Linked DNA regions of Homo sapiens: regions 1, 2, 3, 4 and 5 are each linked to region 6. Evidence: promoter capture Hi-C in 16 types of primary human blood cells and fetal thymus (Javierre and others, 2016). All regions are on one chromosome and are shown on one strand. Each heading gives the region's core, a stretch centred on a gene start or on the middle of the fragment in contact. The rest is flanking DNA. Distances are from core to core; before and after follow the strand shown. Region 1 overlaps ABCC6 (ATP binding cassette subfamily C member 6). Region 2 holds the start of BMERB1 (bMERB domain containing 1). Region 3 overlaps ABCC6 (ATP binding cassette subfamily C member 6). Region 4 overlaps ABCC1 (ATP binding cassette subfamily C member 1 (ABCC1 blood group)). Region 5 overlaps MPV17L-BMERB1 (MPV17L-BMERB1 readthrough). Region 6 holds the start of MYH11 (myosin heavy chain 11).

What was found. Contacts are between HindIII fragments. The CHiCAGO score rates a contact against its expected background, and 5 or more counts as called.
Region 1: a contact is called between a fragment that was not itself captured here and the fragment with the promoter of MYH11 in region 6, in 10 of 17 cell types (megakaryocytes, endothelial precursors, erythroblasts and 7 more). The highest score is 16.1, in megakaryocytes.
Region 2: the fragment with the promoter of BMERB1 here is called in contact with the fragment with the promoter of MYH11 in region 6 in 3 of 17 cell types (neutrophils, monocytes and M2 macrophages); the score reaches 7.2 in neutrophils.
Region 3: a fragment that was not itself captured here is called in contact with the fragment with the promoter of MYH11 in region 6 in 3 of 17 cell types (erythroblasts, endothelial precursors and megakaryocytes); the score reaches 7.9 in erythroblasts.
Region 4: a fragment that was not itself captured here is called in contact with the fragment with the promoter of MYH11 in region 6 in 16 of 17 cell types (endothelial precursors, megakaryocytes, M0 macrophages and 13 more); the score reaches 27.2 in endothelial precursors.
Region 5: a contact is called between a fragment that was not itself captured here and the fragment with the promoter of MYH11 in region 6, in 3 of 17 cell types (neutrophils, M2 macrophages and endothelial precursors). The highest score is 6.1, in neutrophils.

Annotation. Positions count from the first base shown.
Region 1 is chr16:16,185,244-16,188,970 of GRCh38, forward strand. It overlaps ABCC6 (ATP binding cassette subfamily C member 6), which reads right to left. Exons shown (of 31, transcript NM_001171.6): 13 at 3,588-3,727; 14 at 1,881-1,968. Among named protein-coding and RNA genes, the nearest start is that of ABCC6, 36 kb to the right of the region's middle. RefSeq lists a silencer at 1,157-1,330. The HindIII fragment of the contact is 493 bases long and covers 1,607-2,099 here.
Region 2 is chr16:15,432,527-15,435,965 of GRCh38, forward strand. It overlaps BMERB1 (bMERB domain containing 1), which reads left to right and starts at 2,062. Exons shown (of 6, transcript NM_033201.3): 1 at 2,062-2,233. The coding sequence starts at 2,128. The region is part of intron 1 of MPV17L-BMERB1 (MPV17L-BMERB1 readthrough); the gene reads left to right. RefSeq lists an enhancer at 2,366-2,988. The HindIII fragment of the contact is 15,111 bases long and covers 1-3,439 here.
Region 3 is chr16:16,168,476-16,172,089 of GRCh38, forward strand. ABCC6 (ATP binding cassette subfamily C member 6) reads right to left here. Exons shown (of 31, transcript NM_001171.6): 22 at 1,171-1,378. Among named protein-coding and RNA genes, the nearest start is that of ABCC6, 53 kb to the right of the region's middle. The HindIII fragment of the contact is 1,538 bases long and covers 966-2,503 here.
Region 4 is chr16:16,139,139-16,142,656 of GRCh38, forward strand. ABCC1 (ATP binding cassette subfamily C member 1 (ABCC1 blood group)) reads left to right here. Exons shown (of 31, transcript NM_004996.4): 31 at 2,035-3,518. The coding sequence ends at 2,143. Among named protein-coding and RNA genes, the nearest start is that of ABCC6, 83 kb to the right of the region's middle. The HindIII fragment of the contact is 2,114 bases long and covers 1,137-3,250 here.
Region 5 is chr16:15,412,117-15,415,696 of GRCh38, forward strand. All of the region lies in intron 1 of MPV17L-BMERB1 (MPV17L-BMERB1 readthrough), which reads left to right. MPV17L (MPV17 mitochondrial inner membrane protein like) reads left to right here. Exons shown (of 4, transcript NM_001128423.2): 4 at 1-1,155. Among named protein-coding and RNA genes, the nearest start is that of MPV17L-BMERB1, 18 kb to the left of the region's middle. RefSeq lists a silencer at 54-271. The HindIII fragment of the contact is 1,466 bases long and covers 1,339-2,804 here.
Region 6 is chr16:15,855,445-15,859,173 of GRCh38, forward strand. It overlaps MYH11 (myosin heavy chain 11), which reads right to left and starts at 1,584. Exons shown (of 41, transcript NM_002474.3): 1 at 1,497-1,584. RefSeq lists an enhancer at 2,630-3,131. The HindIII fragment of the contact is 5,018 bases long and covers 1-3,729 here.

The DNA of each region.
Region 1 (3,727 bases), core at 603-3,102, 330 kb after region 6:
CAGGGGGAGGCAAACTGTGGCCCAGAGACCAAATCCTGCCTGCTGCCTTTTCTTATAAATAAAGTTTTATTGGAACACGGCCACATCCATTCATTTCTCTATTTCATGCTTTGAGCAGTTGTGACAGAGACTGTGTGGCCCACAGGCCTAAAATATGCACAATCTGGTCATTTATGGAAAAAGTTAGTGAATTTCTGAAATAAATTATCATCAAATCCCAGCCTTCCCAGAGTGAAGGGGGTGTTATTAATTTCACTGTGGCCGGCACAGTGTCTCATGCCTGTAATCCCAGCACTTTAGGAAGCAGAGGTGGTAGGATCACTTGAGGTCAGGAGTTTGAGACCAGCCTGGCCAACATGGCAAAACCCTGCCTCTACCAAAAAATACAAAAATTAGCCAGGCGTGGTGGTGGGCGCCTGTAATCACAGCTACTTGAGAGGCTAAGGCAGGAGAATTGCTTGAACCCAGGAGGCGGAGGTTGCAGTGAACCAAGATTGCACCACTGCACTCCAGCCTGGATGACGGAGTAAGACTGTGTCTCAAAAATACTACTGCTACTACTACTAATTATTATTATTATTTCACTGTGATAACAAGTGTAATTAGATTAGTGGTTCTTGATCCTTAAGACGTAGTTAGAATTGCCTGAAAGATTTTCTAAAAATCAAAGCTCTCATGGCTTAGCCCAGATCAATTAAATTCATCGTCACAATTAGCTGCTATAACGATTAACATGCCCATTTTGGAGATGGGAACACGGAAGCTCAGAGAGATGATCTACTTGTCAGGATCACCCAGCTAGTCAGTGCTGGGGCTGGGATTTGGACCTGGGCAGTTGAATGCCACAGGCTCGGCTTCTTACCACTATGTGGGTGTTTTCCAGGTACACAGTTTGCCCAGGTTCTTCAGTGCAACAAGGGGGAGGGTGTCTTGGCCCGTGGCATAAAAGAAGGATGGGGTGGAGGGGGAAGCCCAGGTAACTTGAGCTTGGTAAGTCTCATCGTGCAATGGTGCTTGAAATGCTGCTATTTTCCAGCTTGATCAAAATGCTGTCATGCTTATTACCTGGGACTTTCTGCATGAGGACAAGGACCTGGTCTGTTAGAGCAGGAGTCCTCAACCCCCAGGCCACAGACTGGTACCAGTCTGCAGCCTCTTAGGAACTGGGCCATACAGCAGGAGGTGAGCGCAGGGCAGGTGAGCAGAGTGTCATCTGTGTTTATAGCCACTCCCCATCACTCCCATCACCGCCTGAGCTCCACCTCCTGCCAAATCAGCAGCAGCAATAGATTCTCAAAGGAGCACGAACACTTGTGAACTGTGCATGTGAGGAATCTGGGTTGCGTGTTCCTTATAAGAATCTAATGCCTGATGATCTCTGTCTCCCATCACCCGCTTTGGGGCCATCTAGTTGACGGAAAGCAAGCTCAGGGCTCCCACTGGTTCTACGTTATGGTGAGTTGTATAATTATTTCATTATATAGTACAATGTAATAATAATAAAGGGCACAATAAATGGAATGTGTTTGAATCATCCCAAAACCACGCGCCTCTCCCCGGTCCGTGGGAAAACTGTCTTCCACAAAACCAGTCCCTGGTGCCAAAAAGCTTGGGGACCACTGTGTTAGAGTGTTCCCTGTTGTACACCCAGGATGGTACAAAGTGGGCGCTCAGTGAGTGGTCGCTGAATGGCTAGCAGAAAGAAGAGCAGCACGGTGCCAGTTTCCAAGTGACACGCAGATGGCGTGATCTGCACGTGTCATCCATTGCCCGCAGCCCCCATCTCCCCCCAGTACTGATGCTGGCTTGCCATTATGGGCTGGGGTGGCCCCCACATCCCCCATCCCTCCCACACCCCTCCTGCCAGACTCAGCACTCACCGCTTCCAGAGGAACTTGAGTCTACGACACCAGGGTCAACTTCTTCCAGGCAGAGGAAGGTGACCAGACGGTCAAAGGACACCCGGGCCTAGGAAAACCGAAGCCGCAGGTCACCCAGCAAGAAGAGCAAAGAACTCAGGTTTTGGGTGTCGGTGTCTCAAGATGTGTGGCAACAGCTTCCTGTCTACCAAGCTCTGTGCATAGGAGGCGTGAGGACAAAGCTTTCTAGTTCATGGGAAACGATGCAACCCGAGTGGTGACCTTGATGGTGGTGATCTCCCACCTCTGCGATCCTACAAATCAGTGACACCGAAGCAAGCCAGCTGCCATTCTGCAGACAAGATCTGGGAAGAGGATGGTGGCTTTTCCAATAAGGTTATCAAGCCATTGTGTGGAACAATTTCAAATGTTGTCCACCTGGGGGCGCTCTCTCCCAGTCACAAACCCATCTTTGGGGAAGAAAGAGACCAGTCGTTAAAATAGAGATTAGGCCAGGTGCAGCGGCTCATGCCGGTAATCCCAGCACTTTGGGAAGCCAAGTGCAGGAGGATCACTTGAGGCCAGGAGTTGGAGACCTGGGGAACATAGCAAGACTCTTTGTTTCTACAAAAAATTAAAAAAATTAGCCGGATGTGGTGGCCCATGCCTGTAGTCCCAGCTACTCAGGAGGCTGGGAGGTAGAAGCATCACTTGAGTCCAGGAGTTTGAGCATGCAGTGAGCTGAGATCGTGCCACTGCACTCCAGCCTGGGTGACAGAGTGAGACACTGTCTCAATAAATAAATTAAATAAATAAATAAATAAATAAATAAATAAATAAATAAGGCGGCCAGGCGCGGTGGCTCATGCCTGTAATCCTAGCACTTTGGGAGGCTGAGGCGGGCTTATTACATGAGGTCGGGGGTTCAAGACCAGCCTGGCCTGGCCAACATGGTGAAACCCTGTCTCTACTAAAAACACAATAAATAAATAAATAAGACTGGGTGCAGTGGCTCATGTCTGTAATCAGCACTTTGGGAGGCCAAGGTGGGCAGATCACCTGAGGTCAGCGGTTCAAGACCTGCCTGGCCAACATGGTGAAATCTCATCTCTACTAAAAATACAAAAAAAAAAAAAAAAATTAGCTGGGCATGGTTGTGCATGCCTGTGGTCCCAGCTACTTGGCAGGCTGGGGCAGGAGAATCACTTGAATCTGCGAGGTAGATCTTGCAGTGAGCCGAGATTGCACCACTGCACTCCAGCCTGGGTGACAGAGTGAGACTCCATCTCAAATAAATAAATAAATAAAAATAAAAAATAAAAAACATGGAGATGGCTCAGGTATGCCGCCGTTTCTTGTTTTCACCATGCTGAAAGGACTAGAGATAGCAAAGGAAGAGAAACAAAATCGCTTTGTATAAAAAAGGGAACTGACATGATTGCTTGTATGTGGAATTGCTGGGCAGATGGACAAGTATGCATGTTCTGAGGTGTGTGTGGAAAGGTCTGCACATTGCCCTCCAAAGGCTGACCCCTTCCAGATGTATTTGCTGTACTCTCTGCCCGCCTCTGTTCTTGCCCCTACCCGCCTCTTTTCCAGCTCCACACCATCCCTCTCCCTCCCACTCTGTCTTCCCTCTCCTCTGCAAATGGCAGGGGTAGGGAAGCTGGAGCCAGGTGTAGCCCACGCACTCTCCCAGGATGGCTCCAGCCCTTGCACCCACCTCACCTGGACGAGGGAGTGGATGGAGAAGGGCAGGAAAGCCTGGGCCTTGTTGAGGATGTTGAGAACTGTGAGAGTCACAAAGGCTTTCTCTGCATTCATAGCATTCTCGGCCACCAGAGTGTGGACAGCAAACACCACCAGTG
Region 2 (3,439 bases), core at 812-3,311, 420 kb before region 6:
AAACTCCTATTCAGTCGTACAGGGAAATGAGTATAAAAACATTTGCTGCTGCCATGTTTGTAATTGTGGACAATTGGGAATAATCTTTATACCTCATCAATGAAAAAATAGACCAATTATGGTTCATTCATGTAGAATACTATACAGTAGACTATGAACCAGAGTTACATGAATCAGAATTCGTATTTCTCAAAAGCATAATGTGGGCCGGGCACGGTGGCTCACGCCTGTAATCCTAGCACTTTGGCAGGCTGAGGCAGGTGGATCACTTGAGCCCAGGAATTCAAGACCAGCCTGAGCAACACAGTGAAAACCTGTCTCTATCTTTTTAAAAGGAAGAAAAGCATATTGTGGAACAACAACAGAAAAAAGCAACTTGCAGAATTATAAAGTATGATATCATTTGTATAAATTATAAGAAAATGTTAAATAGCGCTATTATATATAATTTGTAGAGTTATACATATATACCTGAGAACAATAAACATTACATTCATGCAGCCAGGCACAGTGGCTCATTCCTGTAGTCTCAGCACTTTGGGAGACCAAGGCGGGCAGATCACTTGAGCTCAGGAGTTCGAGACCAGCCTGGCCAACATGGTGAAACCACATCTCCATTAAAAATACAAAAAATTAGCTGGGCATGGTGGCACGCCTGTAGTCGCAGCTACTCAGGAGCTTGAACCCAGGAGGTGGAGGTTTCAGTGAGCCGAGACTATGCCACTGCACTCCAGCCTGGGTGACAGAGAGAAAAAAACAGTTGTACCAATTTATACTCCCACTAGCATTAGATAAAAGTTCAAATTATGCCAGGCATGGTGTCTCACATCTGTAACCCCAGCATTTTTGGACTCTGTCTCAAAAAAAAAATCCACATCTTTTACAACACATGATTGTTAGATTTTTTAGTTTTTGCCTATCGGATGATATATTCTTATTTACATTTTCATTTTCCTTATTACTAAGGGGGTTGAGCAGCTTCTCACATTAGGCCTTCCTCCTCTGCCCACATGACATGACTATTCATATTCTTTCCCTGTTTCCTACTGGGATATCATTTTCTTTTTTTCGTTTCTTTTCTTTTTTTGAGACGGAGTTTTCCTCTTGTTGCCCAGGCTGGAGTGCAATGGCATGATCTCGGATGACTGAAACCTCTGCCTCCCAGGTTCAAGCGATTCTCCTGCCTCAGCCTCCCGAGTAGCTGGAATTACAGGCCTGCGCCATCACAGCTGGCTAATTTTTGTATTTTCAGTAAAGATGGGGTTTCACCATGTTGGCCAGGCTAGTCTCAAACTCCTGGCCTCAAGTGATCCACCCACCTCGGCCTCCCAAAGTGCTGGGATTACAGGCATGAGCCATCGTGCCCAGGCACTGCCATGGTGTTTTTTGTTTGTTTGTTTGTTTGTTTTTAAAGATAAACCTCTGGGGTTTCTGGAAAGTAAAGCCCCATGCTCCAAACAGCTCTGCTATACCTGTGTGCAAAATATTTTCATCTCTCTCTCTCTCTCCCCAAAGTGCATGCAAACACATATGGAACTGACATAGGCATCCACTGTCGCACTTCAAATTAAACAGACGCACACGACAGATATTCTCACAGAAAAGCAGTCAGCCAAGCCCAGAACCCATAGATCTAGGTCCACACTCACGCCTCTGCATGCTCCCCAGAAAGACGGATGCATCGCCCGCAGGTAGAGACGGGCTCACCAATCCCACTCAAAACCCGCTGCCGGCTTACAGCTCGCAAGCCGCCCACAGTGCCAGCCCCATGCCAAGCATCACTAGGGGCTCTAGAATAGGCAGGGGCCTTGTTCTCACTTCCTTTGTGTTGCTTTTATTTTAGTTGTTTTGTTTGTTGTTTTTCTTAGAGTTATCACCTGCCCCTCTGTCTCCCTACCCAGCCCCCAAGCCTCCCCTCCAAGCCTCCACTGCGCATGTGCCGTGCATCCCTGCCCCTTCTGGGTACCCGTAGGCGCTCCCGGGCGCTGGCGGCGGCGGAGGAGAGGGAGCAGCGTCACGGGCGCCCGGCCCGTTAAAACGCTGCTGGCTGGAGCCACCTCCCTCCCTGCAGCCCGCAACGGGAATGGAGTAAAGGGAGACCCGTCGACCTGGCCACGGGGATCAGCGATGGAATTAAAGCAATCTTTGTCCACCCATCTGGAAGCCGAGAAGCCTCTGAGGCGCTATGGGGCGGTGGAGGAGACGGCTTGGAAAACGGAGAGACTGGGGAGAAGTGAGTACTGGGGCGGGGGGCGGGGGGCCGGGGACAGCTGGGGATCCATGCGCCTGCGCGGGTGGTCGCGGGAGCGCGAGGAACGCCAGCAGTGGACCCAGGGAAGCGCCCCCGCAGCGGGGCTGGCAGCTCAGGGGGATACGCAGCTCTGCGCAGCGACGCGCTCTCCCCGCGAACAAAAGGGGGGGACCCTCCGGGCTGAGCCTCACTGGGAGGGTTGGGAGATGGCCAGGCAGCTAAGGCAGGAGCCTGGGCTCGACTTAGGAGTCCCGGATCCGTCAGCTCGCAGCTGGTCCTGTGAAGTCGGGTCTCTCCCACAGCCCAGGGAGGAGGATCCTCTCTCCGCCTGGGATGCGCCAGGGCGCTGGAGACGCGGGACCGTCCTGGAAAGCGCCCACGTCCCTGGAGAGGGGGGAGTGTCTGCTGGTTTTCCGCTTGCTTTCCTACCCCCTGCGTGAGGTTTCGGAGCGCACCTGAAATTCCCAGCTTTTCCTCCCTCGCCTTCCTTGGGTCGGGGTGGGAGGCTTGGGGCGGCAAAAGGGTCAAAAGGCACACACCGTTCTCTTTTCTCTCTTGACTCAGTTAAAGTCTGCTTGGGCACAACTCTAGAAGGCAGTTTCGAAATAGACCGGCTGTATTTATTTACTGGTTCTCTCTGCGGTGTTTGGATGTCAACATTTCTAAGTAAACGAAGGATTTTGTTTTTCATTAATAGGATACAATAGTTGAAACTCCTGCCCTCAAAGTGTAGAGGCAGCGTCAGGGGCTCCAGGGTCACTGGAGGTCCCTGCAAACCCGGGGGCTCCCCAAAGCCGCTGCTCTCACATGGCTTGCCCACCAGGCTGGGAAGGAGAGGTCCTTCTCAGGGACCCGGCAGCTTCCTGCCTCGGCTCTGGGTCACTGCTCCGCGCTCTGCCCCAGCACGGATCTCTGAGCGATGTAGGGCTAAAGTATTGTGAATGTGATCTTATTCTGTCCTCACCTGGTGGAAAATTGTGTGTGCGCGCTTTCTTTCTCTATACCTGTAATTATGGATTTAGAAAATCTTCCTAGAAGGGCTCAACTGTGTTCTGATTCTGACGGGTTGAAGTTGAAATCACAATCCAATGTCTTAGTGGTTCATGGGCTAGGATGGATGTCATAGCACTGCCAACCTCTTTCCTTTTCTTTTTTTTTCTCCCTTTTTAACCTTGGTCTTTCTTTCTA
Region 3 (3,614 bases), core at 485-2,984, 310 kb after region 6:
ACCCAGTCTATATATATGTGTGTGTGTGTATAAATAAGAAGCCAAACTCACATGTGCACTCCTGTTACTCCCTTCAGCCAGGCCACGTATTAAAAGGAGAAGAACCAGGGGTTGGGGACAGGGTGGGCGAGGCAGGAGAAGGGTGGGTGTGGTTGCAAAAGGGCAACACGAGAGCGCCTCGTGGTGAGGGGGTTGTTCAGTATCTCAACTGTCAACCATCGTGATGGATGCGAGAGACTGAACAGGGGATACGACTGCACAGAGGCAAACATGCGCACACCCACGTGCAAGCAAAACTGGGGAAATCACAATGAGATCCATAGGGCCGGGTGCGGGGGCTCACACCTGTAATCCCAACACTCTGGGAGGCCGAGGCGGGCAGATCATTTGAGGTCAGGAGTTCGAGACCAGCTTGGCCAACATGGTGAAACCCCATCTCTACTAAAAATACAAAAATTAACCAGGCTGCACACTTGTAATCCCAGCTTCCAGCTACTCAGGAAGCTGAGGTAGGAGAACTGCTTGAACCTCGGAGATGGGGGTTGCAGTGAGCCGAGACGGCAGCACTGCCCTCCAGCCCGGGCAACAGAGCAAGACTCTGTCTCAAAATAAAATAAACAAATAAATAAATAAATAAATAATTGAGATCCATGGATTGATGGGTGTCAGGATCCTTTGTGTGATACTTTACTATCAGTTTGCAAAATATCACCAATGGGAGAAACTGGGCAGACTGTTCAAGGTAGCTGGCTGCCTTATTTCCTAGAACTGCATGTGAATCTACAATTATTTCAAGAAGAAGTCTTTCCATTTTTGAGGAGGAGAAGAAGGAGTGATAGCGGTGATGCATTTGTTAGGGAGGGTCTGGCTCTGTCTGGAGGTTTGGGGGCAGGCACTGAAAGCCACCAGCAGGCAGGCCTTGCAGACGCCTTCCGCTAGTGGGGAGGGACTGGGAGAGGTTCTGAAGCTTCCAGAAAAGGAGGGATGTGCCCTGTCCTTCCCGTTCCCTCCAGCCTCATCTTAAGGACGCAGATCTTTGCCTGGACCCCAGACGTTTTGCACACTGTTCCAGGGGGACAGGGTGACCCAGGGAGGGGTGGGGTAAAGGAGTCCTGAGCACCCCTTGGTGCAGCTGGGAGGAGAGGGATGAGGAGGGCAGGTGAGGCGTACCTTGGAGACAGCCGAGGAGCCCGAAGATCCCGCCACGCAGGGCTGCCTGCGTCTGCTGCCCACCTACTGCAGGGTCGTCCGCCCACAGGCTCAGCCAGTAGCCCCGGCAGAAGGAGGCCACTTGCTGGCAGAGGAAGAGGAAGAGTGCGTAGAGGCAGAGGGGGGTGCCCACGGCACGCAGGTAGGCCAGGTGCACTGTGGCCTTCACCTGTAGCACACATGAGGGAGAGGGAGGCAGAGAGAGCCCCCAGTGGGAGGGGTGGGTTGAGGCAAGGCCAGGCGAGGCTCCCAGAAAACATGCCCATGGCAGATGGGACCACCACGCAGACCTCACTGGTTCTCCCGCTGTGCCTCCCACCAGAAGCACCATTTCCCCGACAGGCCCCAGCCAGCCTTAGAACCCCCATCTCCTATACAATCCCCAGGGAGCTAGTATTAATATTTTTTCTTTTGTTTTTTTTTTGAGGACAGGGTCTTGCTTTGTCGCCCATGTCACCCAGGCTGGAGTACACTGGCATGATCATGGCTCACTGCAGCCTTGAACTCCTAGGCTCAAGTAATCCCCCCGCCTCAGCCTCCCGAGTAGTCAGGACTATAGGTTTGTACCACCATGTTTTGTTAATTTTCATAGTTTTAAAGAGATGGAATCTCGCTGTGTTGCCCAGGCTAGTCTCAGACTCCTGGCCTCAAGTGATCCTCCCTCCTCGGCCTTCCAAAGTGCTTGGATTACAGGTGTGAGCCACCACACCCAGCTAGAAGGGTTTTCTTGAACACCCACCATAGGTCAGGCATGTGTCTCTCCTTATAACAACCTCCATTTCACAGATAAGGAAACTGAGGCACAGAGAGGTTCAGCCACTGGCTTAAGGTCCTGCTCCTACAAATCTGAAGTTCTCTGCACAGCTGCAGCCAGACGGGACTGTTGAAAACATTAATCTAATTATATCTTGTCGTTGGCCTGTCCATGGCTATCTCTTGCTCTTAGAAGAAATCCCAGCCAGGAGGGGTGGCTCATACCTGTAAGCACTTTGGGAGGCCAAGGCGGGTGTGTCACCTGAGCTCAGGAGTTTGAGACCAGCCTGGACCAACGTAGTGAAACCCCGTCTCTACTAAAAATACAAAAATTAGCCACGTGTGGTGGCAGGCACCTGTAGTCCCAGCTACTCGAGAGGCTAAGGCAAGAGAATCGTTTGAAGCCAGGAGGTGGAGGTTGCAGTGAGCTGAGATTGCACCATTACACTCTTCTCTGGGCGACAAGAGTGAAACTCTGTCTCAAAAAAAAAAAAAAAAAAAAAAGAAAGAAAGAAAGAAAGAAAGAAAGAAAGAAATTCCAAGCTTCTTATCTCGCCCCCACTCACTGCCTGCCAGCCTCATGGGACCCCTTTCTCTGGCACCCTAAGCTACTTCCCACCTCGGAGCCATTGCACCTGCTGCTCTCTCTGCCTGGAGCGCTCTTTCTCCTGCCCTTTGTATGACTGGTTCCTTCACACATTCTTTGGGGAAGCTCAAATGTCACTTCTCAGAGCATCCTGTCCATACCAACCATGGTAGGGTTTCTCAGTGGTCTCTATTTCATCATTCTTTCTTTTAAGAGGCAGGGTCTCACTCTGTCACCCAGGCTGGATTGCAGTGACATGATCATAGCTCACTGCAGCCTCGAACTCCTGGCCTCAAGCAATCCTCCTGCCTCAGCCTCTGAAAGTGTTGGGATTACAGGCATGAGCCACTGCGCCTGATCATTCTTATTTTCTTTATAGCACTTATTGTTATTGGACATAGCTTACTTATTAGCATAATTATTTACTCTCCGTCTATCCTCACTAGTGTCTAATCTCTACCAGACTTAGCCTGGCACATAGTGGGTATTGTGTACATGTTTGCTGGATGGATGAGAGGGTAGGTGGGTGAATAAATGAGCGGGTGGGTAGGTAGGTAGGTGTGTGAATGAGTGGATGAATGGATGGAAAGATCAATGAATGGATGAACAGCTGAACAGACAGATGCATAGGTGAGGGAATGGTTGGATGTATTGTTAGGTGGGATAGATGGATGGGTAAGCGAATGGGATGGATAAATGAGTAGGTGGGTGAGTGGATGGGTTGGACAGATAAATGAGTGGGTGGGATAGATGGATAAATGAGTGGATGGGATGGACAGATAAATGAGTGGGTGGGATGGATGGATAAATGAGTGGGTGGGATGGATAAATGAGTTGGTGGGAGGGATGGATAAATGAGTAGGTGGGATGGATGGATAAATGAATGGGTGGGTGGGTGGGTGGATAAATGGGTGGGTGGGATGGATAAATGAGTGGTTGGGTGGGTGGGATGGATAAATAAGTGGATGGGATGGATAAATGGGAGGGTGGGATGGATAAATGAGTAGGTGGGATGCATAAATGAGTGGGATGGATAAATGAGTGGGTGGGATGGATAAATGAGTGG
Region 4 (3,518 bases), core at 944-3,443, 280 kb after region 6:
GATGGAGGAGACAAAAAATATACAGAGCAATAAACCAACAGGATTCCAGAGGGCAGCAGGTGCTGGGAAGGACGCTTGCCAAGGAGACGGGATAGCGAGTGCTGGGCAGGGCCACTGTTTCCATTGAACACTGCAGGCCCAGTGCGTGGGGCCCACAAAAAGGTTTTATTTTTTTTAAAAAATCAGAAGCAGGCCAGGTGCGGTGGCTCACGGCTGTAATCCCAGCACTTTGGGAGGCCGAGGCAGGCAGATCACCTGAGGTCGATAGTTTGAGACCAGCTTGGCCAACACGGTGAGACCCTGTCACCATTAAAAATACAAAAAGTAGCCAAGTGTGGTGGTGCGTGCCCATAATCCCAGGTACTTGGGAGGCTGAGGAAGGAGAATTGCTTGAACCTGGGAGGTGGAGGTTGCAGTGAGCTGAGATTGTGCCACTGCAGTCCAGCCTGGGCAACAGAGTGAGACTCCATCTCAAAAAAAAAAAAAAAAAAAAAAAGAATATAATCCAACCTGGATTTTATTTATACTAACACAGTCATAAAATAGAATTTCTAGCATTTTGTGTGGAGAAAGCCACCTCCGTAGGCATCAGTGCCGGGGACCACAAAAGTCAGAATGCTGCCATAGTGCCAGGGTCCTGGGGGGTTTTGAGTTTTGTGTGGGTCATCTCTGAAGAGGTGACATTTTAGCTGAGACCTGAACAATGAAAAGGAGTCAGCCTTGAGAAGATCTGGGACAGCGATCTGCAACCTTGTTCTTAAGGGCCGGGGTAGTTTCAGCTTTGTGGGCCACATGGCCTCTCAGCCACTTGACTCCAGTGTTGCCGTGTGAAAGCAGTCATAGATAGTGCACGAATGAATGAGCATGGCTATGTTCCAATAAAACTTTATTCATAAAAACAGGCAAGGGGTCAGATTTGGCCTGCAGGCCACAGTTTGCCAACCTTGGATCTAAAGGAAGAACATTCTAGGCAGCCGGTACAGCCGAATGTAAAAATGAATGCGCTTAATGAATTTGAAGGCTAGCATGAGGAGGCCATGTACCTAGAGGTTGGAATTGAGTGGACAGGGGCAGGAGATTAGGCCAGAAAGGTAGGCAGGGGCTGGATCTTAGAGCACCATGTAACCACGGTGAGAAGCTTGGAACTTACTCTAAGAGCCCTATAAAGCCATTGGAAGGTTTTAAGCAGGGAAGTGACATGAGTTTCTATTTTATTTTATATATTTTTGAGACAGGGTCTCACCCTGTCGCCCAGGCTGGAGTGCAGTGGTGGGATCACAGCTCACTGCGGCCTCAAGTGATCCTCCTGCCTCAGCCTTCCAAAGTGCTGGGATTATAGGCGTGAGTCTCTGCACCCAGCTGACATGATGTTTCTAGTTCACTGAGTACCACCTACTAAGTGGCAGATGCTGAGTTGGTGCTTTTGAAATATAGGACATAGAAATGAGGACAGAAGTGGGCAGTGTCAAATCTTACAGGACCTAAAATATTAGGGGTCAGCCAACTATGGCCCACAGGCCACAGATCTGGCCCCCTGCGTGTTTTTATGAATAAAGTTTTATTGGCACGCAGCCACATCTGTTCATTTTCCTGTTGTCTCTGGCAGCTTTCACACTATAAATACAGCAGAGATGCGTAGTTGTAACAGAAAGCATATGGCCTGCAGAGCCTCAAGTATTTACTATCTGGCCTTTTTCAGAAAAATGTTGCCAATCGTTATTGTAGACTGTGGTAAGATCTTTTTATTTTACTCTGAATGTAATGGAACAGTGAATGTGAACAGTCAACACTGTTAATACCATTCACACCATGATTGATGTGGGGTAGATATTAAGGAGCTGGCCTCATGGGAATCTGACATTGACTAGAAATAGGGATTGAGGGTGAGCAACCAGCTGGAAGGTACTGCACCAGTCCTAGCAAAAAGTGTTAGGGGCCTGACCCGAAGCAGTGACTTGCCCAGGTCAGTTGTCCCAGGGGCACGAGGTGCTCACCCCTCCCCTTCCCCTCATGTCTGTATCCCCTCTCCCTCAGGGTGATCGTCTTGGACAAAGGAGAAATCCAGGAGTACGGCGCCCCATCGGACCTCCTGCAGCAGAGAGGTCTTTTCTACAGCATGGCCAAAGACGCCGGCTTGGTGTGAGCCCCAGAGCTGGCATATCTGGTCAGAACTGCAGGGCCTATATGCCAGCGCCCAGGGAGGAGTCAGTACCCCTGGTAAACCAAGCCTCCCACACTGAAACCAAAACATAAAAACCAAACCCAGACAACCAAAACATATTCAAAGCAGCAGCCACCGCCATCCGGTCCCCTGCCTGGAACTGGCTGTGAAGACCCAGGAGAGACAGAGATGCGAACCACCCAAAACACGCACACCCTGCCCCTGGTGCCCTGAGACAGACACACAGCCTCACGCCCCCAGGAATGCAAGTGGTTTCCTGGTGCTTCCCACGGAGGAGTTTTGGCAGCCAGACTTCTGGAGGAATTGGTTGTATAGAAGATCCTAGTGACCAAATTCAGCCTACTGCCTCGGATCTCTCCAGCCGAAGTCTGTGGACTGCAAGTCTTTGAGATGCTTCTGGCTCCCATCACCTCTAACATCCTTGTCTGGGTCTACCAGGAACGCTTCATTTCCTTGGGGCTGCAGTTTTGTGGTTGAGGGGCCTGGAGAAAATCATTTTCTCCCCTTGGCAGTGTCCCAGGGCCCTGGATGGTCCTCTTACCAACATCTGGTCTTCCAGGCACTCAAAAGCTGGGAACCAGCATCTCAGCGCCAGCTCTACCAGTTCTCGTTTTGGGCCAGAGGCAGCCTCTGCACTCCCACGCCTGTCCTCCTGGAAGGGACCTGGTTGGACTAACGGCTAACCTGGACCTGGAACTGTAGGGCCAGGGGATTGTCTCAGGGCCGACGTTCCACCTGGGGCTTCCCTCCCCACCCACCCCGACTCCAGGCTTTCCCTTTTTTCTTTTGTTCAACATTGTAAGAACAATCAATGCTGTTATTACTGTTCCCACCATGATTGATGTGGGGTAAATATTAAGGAGATGGCCTCATGGGAATTTGACCTTGACTAGAAATAGAGACTGAGAGTGAGCAACCAGCTGGAAGGTACTATGCCAGTCCTAGCAGAAAAATGTGTTAGGGGCCTGGCCCAAAGCAGTGTTGGTTGCTTACAGTGTTGATTGATTTTGTTCTTTTTTCTTACCACCTCTTTTCTTTCCCTCTCATGGTACCTGCTCATGGTTATGAAGCTTTCAAAGTAAAGAACACGAAATACCTCCCAAGTATTACCAGTGGGTACCAAAAAAATGTCCCCTTGAGTCTTTTCCTTGTTTTTAGATGTTAATTCTCTCCCTTGGCATCCGGTTAGCCCCCCAGGGGGGGCAGCATTGTGGAGAACTTGATATTTAGTTACTGATGCTCTTCCAGGACACGAAAAGAACCCATCTTTGAATATCAATGATTTTTTTTTTTTAAGTACTGTTCCGGGGAGAAAAACAGTCTCAAAACTTGAACT
Region 5 (3,580 bases), core at 822-3,321, 440 kb before region 6:
TTGAGAGTTTGTGCGTGTTTATAATTTTCTGGCTGGGCCCGGTGGCTCATGCCTGTAATCCCAGCACTTTGGGAGGCCAAGGCGGGCGGATCACTTGAGCTCAGGAGTTTGAGACCAACTTGGGCAATGTGGTGAAACCCTATCCCTACCAAAAATACAAAAATTAGCCGGGTGTGGTGGCTTGCACCTGTCCTCCCAGCTACTTGGGGGTGCTGAGGCAGGAGGATCACTCAAGCCCAGGAGGTGGAGGTTGCAGTGAGCCGAGATCACGCCACTGCACTCCAGGAAGGGCAACAGAGCAAGACTGTGTCTATAAAAAAAAAAAAAAAGAAAGAAAAGTAAATTAACTTTGGTATTTCAGGTTGTATTTATATGGGGACTTCACATCAACTATGTTCACTACAATTGACCAAGTTAAGTGTAGACAGTCTCTTTAATAGAGAGATTATCTGGAACTGCAATTTTTTTTTTTTTTTTGAGACAGAGTTTCGCTTTGTAGCCCAGGTTGGAGTGCAGTGTCGCGATCTCGCCTCACTGCAACCTCTGTCTCCCGGGTTCACGCCATTCTCCTGCCTCAGCCCAAGTAGCAGGGACTAAAGGCGCCCGCCACCATGACCCACTAATTTTTTTTTTTTTTGGATTTTTAGTAGAGTCGGGGTTTCACTGTGTTAGCCAGGATGGTCTCAACCTCCTGACCTCGTGATCTGCCTGCCTCTGCCTCCCAGAGTGCTGGGATTACAGGTGTGAGCCACCGCGCCCGGCCTGGAACTGCAATTTCTAACTCATACATCATTGCTATAAACCTTATTTGTTTACTGTTTCTCTTCCAAGGACGGTCAGTCATCCTTTAAAATTCATTTGAAGTTATGAAAAGATAGTTTTTGTTACATGGGAAATTTACTTTTAGTACAGTAAAATGTTATGTGAATTTCTACAGAATGTTTGCTAGAATGAATTATATCTAGGATATGCTTAACAATATATTCTGGAGGCAGCTTTCATTTGAAATTAGGTTCATCTTCTGAGAGTATTAAAAAGTTAATGGGTTTTTGTGCCTGAAGATTTTGATGTTGCATTTGGCTACATTTAATCCACTTTCACCCATAAGGTTTAGCATCTAAAAAAATTAAATCACTGCTAATGCAATTAAAATGACTGAAAAAGTTTCTTTTAATACTTTCAACAGCTGATACATAAAAAGGGAAATCTGGAATTTGAAGATAAAGTATGTGCTGGAGTTGAAAGGTTAGGAACACATGAAGATCTGTGAACTGTAGCTAACCTTGTGAATAGAAGGCAGTAATTACTGAGTAACATTTTTGGTATATATCAAGTAAAAGCTTGTCTTTTCCTAGTTCTCTTCTCCTTTGTTAAGTGTATCCTTCTCTAACTACATCTTTATTCATCCTTTTCTTCCTTCCTCTTTCTTTGTCCACAACCCAACCAAACCCACTGCTCTCTCCTCTCACCCCCTGCCCGTGCCATGACCACTTGAACATTCCAGGAGGGCAGAATAATTGTAATAAGGCTAAGGGCTTATTACACTTCTTACACTTAAGGACTCAACAGCCTTGCTTTAGAGAGGATGGTAGCGGAGGATCCTCTCTGGTCTCTGTGAGAAGAAAAGAGAAAGGACCATCCTACGGAGAATTTATTTTTATTTTTATCTTTTTTGAGATGGAGTCTCACTCTGTTGCTCAAGCTGCAGTGCAATGGCATGATCTTGGCTCACTGCAACCTCCGCCTCCCAGGTTCAAGCGATTCTCCTGCCTCAGCCTCCCGAGTAGCTGGGACTACAGGCATGTGCCAGCATACCCAGCGAATTTTTGTATTTTTAGTAGAGATGGGATTTCACCATGTTGCCCAGACTGGTCTTGAACTCCTGACCTCAAGTGATCTGCCTATCTGTCTATGATATTTTAGGTTGGCAGTTGCAAACTAATGGTCCACAGCGTGCTTTTTATGACACCTAGAAGGTTTGAAGACTTTGATTTCATAGTAAAAATCTGGGTTTCAGGCTGGGTGCGGTGGTGCATGCCTGTAATCCTAGCACTTTGGGAGGCTGAGGCAGGTGGATCACCTGAGGTCAGGAGTTCGAGACCAGCCTGGCCAACATGGTGAAACTGTCTCTACTAAAAATACAAAAATTAGCCAGGCGTGGTGGCATGTGCCTGTAATCCCAGCTACTCGGGAGGCTGAGGTGGGAGAATTGCTTGAACCAGGGAGGTGGAGGTTGCAGTGAGCCAAGATTGCGCCACTGCACTCAAGCCTTGGCAACAGAGCGAGACTCCATCTCAAAAATAAATAAATAAACAAATAAATAAATATATAAAATCTGGGTTTCAGGCCAGGTGTGGTGGTGCACTCCTGCAATCCCAGCACTTTGGGAGGCGGAGATGGGCAGACAGCTTGAGCTTAGGAATTCCAGACCAGCCTGGGCAACATGGCAAAACGCCATCTCTACAAATAACACAAAAACATTAGCTGGGTGTGGTAGAGTGCGCCTGTAATCCCAGCTACTTGGGAGGCTGAGGCGAGAGGATTGCTTGAGGCTGGGAGGTTGAGCCACGATCACACTCACACACTTCAACCTGGGCAACAGAGCCAGACTGTCTCAAAAAAGAAAAAGAAAAGAAAAAAGAAAAGAAAAAAGGAAACGTCTGGGCACATGCCTGCTACAGTCCTCTATGAAGCAATGTGCCGCAGCAGGGGTCCCTAATCCCTGGGCCATGGACCTGTACTGGTCTGTGGCCTGTTAGGAACTGGGCCACAGAGCAGGAGGTGAATAGTGGGTGGACAATTGAAGCTTCATCTGTATTTCTGGCCGCTCCCCATTGCTTGCATTGCTGCCTGAGTTCTGCCTCCTCTTAGATCAGCAGCATCATTAGATTCTCATAGGAGCATAAACCCTGTTGTGAATTGCACACACAAGGGATCCAGGTTGCATATTCCTTATGAGAATCTAATTCCTGATGATTTGTGGTGGAACAGTTTCATCCCAAGACCATTACCATCCTGCGCTCCATCCCTTGCTGCCTGTGGAAAAATTGTCTTCCACAAAGCCAGTCCCTGGTGCCAAAAATGTTGGGGACTGCTGTGCTTTAGAATGTGCCTTGAATCTGCAGCCTCTATTGTATAGTTCCCTATAGACTTTGCTTCCTACCATCTTACATTCTGCCTTATAGGCATTTGTGTTTGCAACTCTTGTTTTTGTTAGTATGCTACGCTGGTGACATTGACCAAATTGACCACACATTAATTATAAGCTTAGTTGGTGATGACCTCAATGGAATAACGTGACATAAGTACTGTGACAATACTTCTTGCATGTATCTGCTGGTAGAATTGTAAACCTGGTGGTCCGAGATGGTCTAATTCGATCTTCCTATGTATCTACTTATATTAATAGTGGTAGCATTTGAGGTGGTGATTCAGAGTTTCAATGCCTCTTCTCATGGCAACAACAAATGTTTTCCTTCTGAATCAGCATTAACCTAGATGTTACTGCAGATCAAAATTAGACTGTACATTTTCAACCACAGAAATATTGGGCAGTAAACATTTTTCTTAATATTGATTG
Region 6 (3,729 bases), core at 334-2,833:
GTGGGGTCAAGGGTATGAACTTGGACTCAAACTGACCCGGGAATGGGTTCTACCACTTGCTGGCTGTGTGACACTTTACCTCTCTGAGCCTCAGCTGCCTTGTATACTAAACAGGCATCATAAAGCCTTTCTTATGAAGTTGTTGCAAAGATTAAATGAGATAAATTAAGTTAAATGTTGCAACAGCATGTGGCACTGAAGTGTTCCATCAACGGTAGCTATCTCAAAGGGAAAACATCAATTTCCTTCAAACAAAATTCTCTATCTTATTTCACACCCTGCCACCTAATGACTTTCAGTTCAGCGTCAAGTTCCGTCTCTGAACAATTCTAAAATAGTATCGTTGAGTAAATCAAAGAAACAAAAAACTATGCAAAGCAGTTTATTAATAGCCTGCATTCTTTTTGCCAAACCCCGGACGGACAGTTCACCATTTAATCTCTCAGTTCTTCATACTGCAACTAAACACTCCCACCTTGGGTTTCTAAATATTTTCTTTTACTTCTTGACAAGCATGGCTTTGGATGGTACCTTTTCTCAAGTGGCAAAATCCCTACCAGACCCTGTGCTGGAAGAAAACTTACAACAGGCAGTAGCCACACTTTCTCTCGTTTTACCCATTTGGTTGGGCACGAGAGTGGCATTGACACAGGTGGCTCTGCGGGAAATTCTAGTGTAATCTTACCTAACGCACCTGCAGATCGTGGAAGCAAATGGAGACTTTGGAGCCCACCTGGGTATCTGGGGGCCCTTTGGGGTCAACCTGGGTGAGTTGTTTTTTTTTTTTTTAATTTGGAGAAGAGGAAAAAGTGGGCTGTAACAAACTAGATCACAACCAGCCTTATCTCCCAGGGGTTCTCAACATAGAAGAACCTCCCCTAAACTGATTAAAAAAAAAAAACAACAACACTCCTTTCTGCTAAGCCTATGCCCATGTGTTTTTAACTGATTTAATGCATTATCAACACAACTGTGCAATACGGTCAAATCCACAAGGAGCCTCACTTTGCCCTTCTGTGTGATAGCAAGTGACTTTTCAGTGAAGTTCAGCTGTAAATTTTTTGGTGCCTAGAATAAAAGTGAGATGCCTTGATTGTCTGCACCGGACCTCTGAGATTTCCAAGGGAGCATATCTCCTGGATTAGCCTCTTAACAAGAATCACTCGGGACTAATTTTTTTTTTTTTAAGGCAGTTTTTCTGGGGATTCTAGAGTTGGGAAATGGAGTTGGGTCCAGGCATTGATATCGTTAATAAGCACCCCCAAAATGGTACTTCTCACTGGCAATCTTAAGAAATGCTGTTTGGGGAAAGTCTAGGATAATCTAAGACGATAAGGCAGAGAGAGATCCAAATCACAACTCTGCCCCCACCATGGCCCTTACGAGGTTGACAACAGGGACCCCTAAGTGCACCCCAGCCCCTATAGAATACCCTATAGGACTTTTAACACCCCCCTGCCCTGCAATCTGCCCCCAGAATGACAACTACTACTTACAGATCTCCAACTGGGGGGACTAGTGGAGAGGAAACTGGATGGCGAGCTCGGATCTGACGCACCTCCCAGGCCGGAGCGTCCAAATCTCCCTGCGCGTCCTCGGACGCCTCTCTTTATAGACCCGGAGCTGCCCGCGGCTGGGAAAGGGGAGGAGGCCGAAGGGGTGGAGTTGGGGAGGGTCCCTCGCGGCCCCCTCGCCGCGCCCCCTGCAGGGCGCACCCCCGGCGGGAGCGCAAGGAGCTGGGGCGCTCGGGACAAGGGTGCACGGAACAGGTGCGCACCGCACAAGGGCGCACGGAACAGGTGCGCACAGGGACGGGAGTCTCAGCCCCGGCCCCAGGCGGTCGCAGACGCTCCGGATCCCTAGAGAAAGGGGGTCGAGCAGGCAGTGTCTGTGCGGGATGCTTGAGAACGTCTTCCCTGAGTCGGTTCCGGCCGCAAAGGCTTTAACCTCTTCCTCCCCGTGTCGGGGCTGTGGTGGATCTGACTTGACATCTCCCACCCCACTTCCCATTTTATTGGCATCGCACTGTCTGGAAAGAGGGCCGGCTGTGCAGCGTGAAGGGTAGGGAAAGGGGATTTCTTGAACTTTGCAAAGTGCAAGACAGGAGGCCCCCACCCTTGCTGGGAACCGTGCAGGAAGGGGAAGTTTTTACTTTTCCCAACTTGCCATCTCCACCTCCACCCACATCACCACGACCAAAATACAAATAAAAATTAAAAATAAGCCCACTGTGATTATTTCAGCTGTCCCCCTCCCCTGTGCGCCACTCGCCAGCTGCGTGACCTTGGGCAAGTCACTTCACTTCTCTGAGACTTGGTGTCCATAGCTACAAAATGGGGGAAGGCGGTGGCGGTGATAATTACGTTATTTACAAGATGCAAGTGTCAAGATCCAAGGAGAAAGTGGGTGTGCCCCCAGAGTCTGCGAGTTCCCTTCAACAACTTCCCTTCCCCAAGGATTCCTCGCCTAAAATTGCATTCCCTGTCTCTCTCCATCACAGGCTCTCTCGCTCTGTCTCTGCCACTGTCTCTGCATGTCTGTCACTCTGATCATTGCTGTCTCTCGCTCTATCTTTTGTCTCTGTCCCTCTCGCTTCTCTAGATCTGTCGATGTATCTGTCTCTCCCTCCTGTCTCACTTTGTCTCTGGTCTCTGTGTCTCTTGCTCTCCATCTCTCCCGCGTGTCTCACTCCTATCTCTGCGCTTTCTCTCTCTCTCTTCCCCAGGCTCTCCGTCTTCTCCCCGTCCCTCCCTCCCCGCTCCTGTCCACGCACGCACACACAGGCCATAAAAGGAAGTCGAGGCGGTGGGCTGGCCCCGCGCCAGGCCGGGGACCCGCGGGCAGCCCGGGCGCTCCGCTCCCCGCGCGGCACCAGCTCCTCCGAGGTTCCCGGGCCGGGCCGGGCCGGGCCGGTCCCCCTCCCCGGGAGCGGCGGGAGCGGCGGGCGGGAGACAACCCAAAAAGGGCAGGCGCGGACTCCTTCCTGCAGGAATTCCCAGCGCCGCATACCAGCTCTGGGCTGCCGGCTCCCCCTGACTAAATATGGTGCCGAGTGGCCTTCCTGCTCCCCGGCGTCGGGGGAGGGGGCCCTTCACGCAGCCACCGGCCGCCGTTGCCCCGCGGGGCTAGATGGGGACCCCTCTGCTTGGGGAAGGCCCGGAAGGGGGCAGCCCCCAGTCCCACGTGGGTTTCTGCTGCTTCAGGCTAGAGGATTTGGAGAGAGGGTTAAAGTTGGGCAGACCCCTCCTGGGTTCTGTACTTGACGCAGGCCCTTAGTCTACAACCACTCCTCTTGCAACCAGGTGGAGGGGCTGGGGGCCGGGGGTGCGGGGGGTGGCTTTATTAATACCCCCATTTTGCAGGTGAGAAAATTGAGTCCCTGCAGGGGTAAAGGGATTTGACCAAGCTCTCACTGGGACAGTCATTGATTGGTGCTGGCACTGGAACCTTTCTGATGACACCATTCACTTCCAGAGAGGAGACATTAAAGGGAAATGCCCAGGCAAACTGGCCTTGAGGCCCAGGGCGTGTATCTGAGAGTAGATGTCTGGCTTTGAATCTGCCAGTGCTGCTTTCTACCTATATGACCATGGGCAAGTAACTTTGCCTCTCCATGCCTCAATTTCCCTACCTGTAAGATGGGAAGAACATCAGCTACTTCCTGGCCTTTTTGTAAGCAGTCCTTGAGATGATCCATGTAAAATGAACATGGTGCACCGCTTCATGTGA